Linked DNA regions of Homo sapiens: region 2 is linked to region 1. Evidence: promoter capture Hi-C in human tissues and cell types (Jung and others, 2019). All regions are on one chromosome and are shown on one strand. Each heading gives the region's core, a stretch centred on a gene start or on the middle of the fragment in contact. The rest is flanking DNA. Distances are from core to core; before and after follow the strand shown.

Region 1 (3,730 bases), core at 228-2,727:
GGATGGCACAGGCCCTCCGCTCTCGGGCTCCCCACACTAGACTTCGGGCCGGCAGGATGGGTTAAGGTAGCACTCGTTGGAGTCAATAATTAAGCAATGGAAACAAACAGCCTAAATAAGGGTGTTGAGGACTCAGGAGAAGGTGGCTGATTAATCTCAGGCTCATAGTTTGAAATGGGAGCGCAGGGGCTGGGCTGTGGCCTCCTCATCTGCTCCCTGGGCGTGTGGCTGTGTAAAGAGGTGTGGGGACCCACAAGAAGGCCGAGGAGCAGCACTGGGGTGGAGAGAGCAGTGGGGAGGCGGGGACCCAAGGGTTAAAAAAAAAAATTCCTCAATTTGGAAACATTTGCAAAACTCCAGAAGAAAAACTTTTAAAAGTTCTCCACTCCCTTCCAAACGTACAAACATGCACACACACAATTAGGAATTTCCCAAAGTTTTCATCTGTCTAAAAAGAAAGTGCCAGTGCAAATTACAGAACATCGTCGCTTCCTCATGTGCGGCGTTTCTACGGGCCTGGGAGGGGACGCAGAGGCTACCCCGGTGGTCCCAGCCTGCAGCGTTCACGTGAGGAAACTTCCGCAAAAGCCCTGATGCATGCACATTCTGACTGCAGAGGCCAGAGCATCCCGCATTTTGGAGGCTGAAAGGCTCCCCTAGGATAACCTTTTCCGTTAACAGAGGAGTCCGCTGAAGCGCAGAGCTAACTGAAAACAGCTAGAATTAAAATCCAAGTCACCCGGCCGGCATCAGCAGTCATTCCTTTCCACCACACAAAACTGGCCAGGAAGACGGACTCTGGCGCGCCCTCCCAGGCCGAAGCGCATTTCTTCGCTAACGCGCGAGGAGTAGGCTGCATAGACCCGGCGCAGGAGGTGTTCATTTTCGGATCCAGCCCTGTAGTCACTTTAGCTAAACCCGGTTCCAAAGGGGTGGGAGTCGTCGGAGAGGAATGGCCTCTGTATCTCCGGAGACGGAAACACCAGGACGAAGAGGCCCTAAGAACGTGTGCCCGGGGTGCGACCGGGGGGTGGGGGGCAGGGGGCAGAGACCCTGAAAAGCTCCACCGCCGAACCCCAGGGCAGTGTCCCGGCTTGGCTGGACTGGGCGCGGGCGGCTGCAATGCTCCCGGGCGCGGCGCTGGGACCCCGCGGGCCACGTCGGCTCCGCTGCCCCGACGCCAGGGCCCGACTCGCGTCTCCCTCTGGCGGGGCACCACAAGGGGCAGCGAAACGGTGGTGGGGGCGGGCGCCGCGCTCCTTCCCGTCTCCTCCCCGCCAGCTCCGGGCCCGTCCTTTTCCGCCCGGCTCCCGGCAAGGGTCCCCCGACTGGCGCCCGCGCGTCCTCCCTCGGCTGCTGCAGGCCGGGCCGCGGCGTCGAGCGGGGGCGGCGGGGCGGGGCCCGCAGCCATTGGCGAGCGGCGGGGCGGGGGCGGGGGCGCGGAGGGTCGGCCCCGGGACGCGCGCAGCCGGCCCGCAGTTGCCGCTGTCGTCCGCAGAGCCAGTTCCTAGCGCAGAGCCGCGCCCGCCATGAGGGAGATCGTGCACATCCAGGCGGGCCAGTGCGGGAACCAGATCGGCACCAAGGTGGGCCTGGCGCGGTGCAGGGCCTCTCCGCGGGTCGGCTGCTGGCGGGCCCCGGGTCTCCCGGCGCGACCCCCGCCGGGGCGCGCACCCGCTGTGCGCCCCTGGGTCCTCGGAGCCCGGTGCGGACCCGCGAGGGCCGCAGGGAGGGAGCGCCCGGGGCGTGGCCGGCCGGGGACCTTCTACTCTTCGCTCCCCACCCCCATCCCAACTGGGAGCGGCTGCCGGCGGCTCAGGCGCGCCTGGAATTCGGCCGCCGGGGCGCCTGGGGTGGGCGCGGGTGGCGGCGTCCCGGGCTCTGGGTTCTGAGCGTCTGTCCCCCCGCCTTGCCCTGCCCAAGTTTTGGGAAGTGATCAGCGATGAGCACGGCATCGACCCGGCCGGAGGCTACGTGGGAGACTCGGCGCTGCAGCTGGAGAGAATCAACGTCTACTACAATGAGTCATCGTGTGAGTAGCAAGGCCGCCGCGCCCTGCCCGGCCGGGACCCGCGTGGACGCTCCGGCGCCGCCTCTTAGCGCGGCGAGTTTGCTTCGGGAAAAGTTCTCTCGGGGTGTAGCAGGATGCCCGGCCACTCCCTTCGCTCCTCCGGGGCGGGAAATCCGCCGTCAGTTTATTCAAACAGCTCGATTCAGCCTATCCTGAGGGTCTGAGCGCTTGAACGGGACCACCCGTTAGCGTTGTGAAATCAACGTAGCGGTTCCTGCCCAGCCTTCTCTGTCTAGCCGGGCGCGGTGGCTCAAGCCTCTAATCCCAGCGCTTTGGGAGGCCGAGACTGGAGGATCATTTGGGGCCAGGAGTTCAGGACCAGCCTGGGCAGCATAGGAGACCACCCCCCGCCCCCCTCCCGCCCCGATCTCTACAACAATTTTAAAATTAGCCGGGCTTGGTGGCCCACCCCTGTAGTACCAGTTAACTGAGGGCTTGAGCTCAGGAGGTCGAGGCTGCAGTGAGCTGTGATCGCGCCACTGCACTCCAGCCTGGGTGACAGAGCGAGACCCTGTTAGAATAAATTAGAGCGTTTCTCAAGGATCCTTGGGAAAAACAAAGCTTCCCCCCCCCCCCCCCCAGTTTAAAACGTATCTCTTATTGGGGATTCTTGGCTAAAAATTTGAGAAACGCTCTCTTAAGTGACTTTTCTGGTCCCTTGCAGACCTCTAAAAAGACTTTAACCTCCCTGGAAGCTGAAACTCCAGGCAGTTCTCAGCAACGAGTGGAGTTTTATTCATTTACGCAGCAATGACAAAAGGCTGGGAACATCAGGGCATGGAAGATGAAATTTCTAGAGGACACTAAGGATAGTTCCAGTATACACTGCACTTCATGTTAATCCCTCACCCAGCTTGGGTACATCCATTTTCGATCTTGGCGAGTGCACTGCAGGACAGGAGTTGAAGAGCAGGTCCTATCTGGAATCATATTAACCGTGTCCTCACCGGGAACAAGTTCTAGCCCAATTGGCATGAAATTTCCACACAAGAACACTCTGACTCAAAATGAGAGTGACTCTGGGGAAACAGCCAGTGGCGTGCTCCGGGTAACAAGGTTCTCAGACTGCACATGGGCACATGTATGTGTATGCATGGGGGAGGTGTCACAAAGCAGAGAATTTCATCCAAACCTGGCAATTTGCTGTAAATACCTAGTTTATTTCCATGGAGCTAAAGTTGTAAAACTTCCTAACAGGAAAGAGGTGTCAGGGTGAGCTGGAAAATACAGTAGGCAGGAAGTCAGGGGACTTGATTTCTCATCCTGCCTCTTCCTGGAACCTCCTCTGCCAGGTCATGCCTGGACTCGTTCCTCATTCCAGTGTTAAGGTTCTAGGATTTTTTTTCTTTCTTTTTTTTAAGAGACAGGGTTTCGGCCAGGCACGGTGGCTCACCCCTGTAATCCCAGCACTTTGGGAGGCCGAGGTGGGCAGATCACAAGGTCAGGAGATCGAGACCATCCTGGCTAACACGGTGAAACCCCATCTCTACTGAAAATACAAAAAAAATTAGCCGGGCGTGGTGGTGGGCACCTGTGGTCCCAGCTACTTGGGAGGCTGAGGCAGGAGAATGGCATGAACCCAGGAGGCGGAGCTTGCAGTGAGCCGAGATCACACCACTGCATTCCAGCCTGGGCAACAGAGCGAGACTCCATCGCAAA
Region 2 (3,324 bases), core at 36-2,535, 240 kb before region 1:
TATGCAATGTGTGCATGTCTGTGCAGTGTGTGTACAGTGTGAGTGTGCAATGTGTGTACAGTGTGTGTGTACAGTGTATGAGTGTGTAGTGTGTGTGTGTGTGCAGTGTGCCTTACTCCTGAAGGGCAGTGGAGGGGGTGTGAACTGGGGCAGGGGTTCAAAGTAGAAGGGGTGAGGCAGGAAGAGGAGCCAAACCCCAGGAGCCTCTCTAACATGGCCTCATGCTCAGACATAGGTCTTTCCTCTGCTGCACTGGACCACGGTCACAGCCACTCTTGCTTCACTGGAACACTGAGATCTGTCTTTGTTCCTGAAAGCACATCCCTGGAGGTGGAGTACGGACGGAATTATAACAATTCTCACTTTCTAGTGATTTGCCACTTAGGAAGTAATTTGCTTAGAGATTTTTATCTCATTACATTTTTATTTCATTATATCATGAAGTTCATGTAAGAATGAGTAGGATGAAAGCTTATGCAAGCCTGTTAGAATTTCATATAAACCAGAGAACTGATCCATTACAGAAGCAGAGTGTAGTAAAAGTCTGAAGTCAAGTTTAAGCAGTTTTCTGGGCAAATGCAATGCTTATGAGATGGTGCAGGAAACTCCTATTCATTTAGCTTTGAAATCACTGAAATCACAGTTACTGGAAATGTCTTCTATAGTCAACTTTTATGAGAAAGAGACAGAAGACAAATAAACCAATGGGTATCAGAGGTTTGTTTTTAAAGTAGCTTTCAGAGCGTATCATGGAGCCCGTTCAAAGGCAGCTCAGAATTTCAGACTTACACAGTAAAGGTCTATTATTCTTAATGAAGAACACGGCCATATGCTTAAGTATTTTCTAAATTGTCTAAAACAGATGGCTTTATTTTGTATAGTTTTGGTGTTCTGTGTGTTATAGTTCTTTGAAAAGTAAAATCTATATATGGATTTTATAATAACTGCATTTATGCAAATACGCAGTCAGCCAGCTTGCCTCTCCATGCACTCACAGCTTATGAGTCCTGTCTGAACTCCCCGCCTTCCTGCCCATCCCCTGCTGCACATCTGGCCCCAGGATAGTCGTCTTCTGTTTCGTCTGCTCTCAGAGTCCTCTGTCTGTTCATGCCATGCTCCTCCACCAGTGCTCAGGGTCTTCTCACTCAGCTACTAAGGAATCTTGAAACGTCCTTTCCTCTGTGTTGTCAGCCTCTGCTCAGCCCCTGGTTCCTACCCTTTAGTTTATAAGGACTCCCATGAGTCTTGCGCTAAAGGGCCACCTTGTCCTTTGGCCTCACCTCATCTCTTTGTCTGTCTCACCTCCACCTGCATTCTCATCCCTTTCCATCTCCGTTTTTTTTCTGGCTTTTTAAAAGAGAAGTCTGTCCTCATTGTCTCCCCTTCTCTACCTTTCATTTAGTTCACAACTCACTGCTCCATCACACTTATCTTTTCCACAATTCCACTGAAACTTTTTTGATACACGTCACCAATTTTCTCCAAAAGTCCTGTGATGAATGATCACCTCTAATCAAAGCTGGCCTCTACTAGATTTGACTCCCTCTTTCTTAAAACTCCTCCATGCACATCTTTTGTTTGCTTCTTTGTTTGTTTGTTGAGATGGAGTTTCACTCTTGTTGTCCAGGCTGGAGTGCAATGGCAGGATCTTGGCTCACTGCAACCTCTGCCTCCCAGGTTCAAGCAATTCTCCTGCCTCGGTCTCCCGAGCAGCTAGAATTACAGGTGCCCACCACCACGTCAGGCTAATTTTTGTATTTTTAGTAGAGACAGGGTTTCATCATGTTGGCCAGGCTGGTCTCGAATTCCTGACCTCAGGTGCTCCGCTCCCCCTCGGCCTCCCAGACTGCTGGGATTTCAGGCCTGAGCCACCGTGCCTGGCCTGCACATTCTCATACCTCCTTTTGTTGTCTTAAGTAGTTCCTCTTTCTTGATCTGCTCTTTAAATATTGTTAATTTCCCCCAGATTCTATGATTGGCCATCTTGTGTCTCTAAATACTCTTACTGAAGTAGCAGAAAAAGAACACAAAACTTGAAGTCATGGAAACCTGGGTATGAATGAGTTGTAAGAGCATGTTCACTATATTTTCAGCAAAATTGCATGAAGGCTGTGTCTGAGTTTTCTCATCACTTTTTTTTTTTTTTTTTTTTTTTTACCAAAAAACCAAAACCAGCTTCCATTTATCGATGGGCCCCACCCCCTGACGTCCTGGGGAGAGGGGCCCCCCAAAGAGCCTTTCTCTCTGGGACAAAATACAAATGGCAGAAAGGGTCCATACAGAAAAGAACGTCTCTGAGGTCCTTGCGTTTCTAATAAAATGGTAAGAATCTTTCGTGTGGGGCCTCCCAGCTGGGCAAGCCTTGACTGGCCAGGAGTCCAGGTGCCCAAGGTGTGACCTCAGCCCCTCACCCTGAGCAGGGAGGCTGGGCAGAAGCCTAGGCCCGCAGAGGCCCGGGGCTGCCGCCCCATCACACACTCATGGTCATCCCTGGCGAGTACTGGCCCGCCGCTGTCACGGTCTTGCTCTGGCCCCCCGGCCGCCCCGCCGGGGCCTGCCCGCCAGGCCCCTCCCGCCTGACACCGCCCTGGAGGGGGGAGAGTCGAAGCAGTCGCTTACGCTTTCGCTTGGAAACAGGTGCAGGAAGGTCCCGGCGGCCGCCATCTCGCCGTCGTCCCGCGGGGTGCCCGGGGCGTTGCTCAGGCCGGCCACGGCGCCGGGGGAGCTCTTCGGCAACCCGTCCATGTCGCCCGAGCCCAGGGATCCGCTTACGTGGTGAGGCTCCATCGCGCTCATGGCGGCCATGGGGCCCTCCGGGCCAGGGCCGAGCGGGAAATTAGCCCTGCCGGCACCCGGCCCGATGGGGTTCATGATAGTGTACATGTTTTCACTGGAGTTGGTAGAATCTCCAGGGCTAGGCATGATGAGGTGTTCCAGGGGGCCCACCTCCTCCTGGGGGTCCCGTGTAGCTGCCAGGGGATGAGGAGGAGTAGGGGATCGAGTTTCCACTGGGGCTGGCCCACGGGCCACGAACTCCTGGGCCCATGTTCATGGCAGGCAGGCCTGGGCCGGCAAGGGAGTTGGGTGGGGGTCGCATGCCGCCTCCATAGCTCTGGGGCCCCACGCTGGCCATGCCGCGAGGAGGCGTCACCCTCCGCATTGGGCCGCCCATGCTCGGATGCCCCTGGGCTCGTGGGGAGGGCTTCATGGCGCCAGGGAGGAGGGGATGGGAGCCGGGGAGGCCTGCGGGAGGCTGACTTAGCATCCGCAGGGTGGGCCGGGGACCCCCTGGGAAGCGCGGTGACATGAAGGGCTGACCGTGAG

What was found. Contacts are between HindIII fragments. The study calls those that stand out against the background at their distance.
Region 2: a contact is called between a fragment that was not itself captured here and the fragment with the promoter of TUBB6 in region 1, in 1 of the 25 tissues and cell types used here (H1 embryonic stem cells).

The regions. Positions count from the first base shown.
Region 1 is chr18:12,306,764-12,310,493 of GRCh38, forward strand. TUBB6 (tubulin beta 6 class V) reads left to right here and starts at 1,478. Exons shown (of 4, transcript NM_032525.3): 1 at 1,478-1,586; 2 at 1,924-2,032. The coding sequence starts at 1,530. RefSeq lists silencers at 964-1,453, 1,544-1,643, 1,664-2,013. The HindIII fragment of the contact is 9,027 bases long and covers 1-3,730 here.
Region 2 is chr18:12,064,574-12,067,897 of GRCh38, forward strand. It overlaps the pseudogene LOC646044. Among named protein-coding and RNA genes, the nearest start is that of ANKRD62, 28 kb to the right of the region's middle. The HindIII fragment of the contact is 4,563 bases long and covers 1-3,324 here.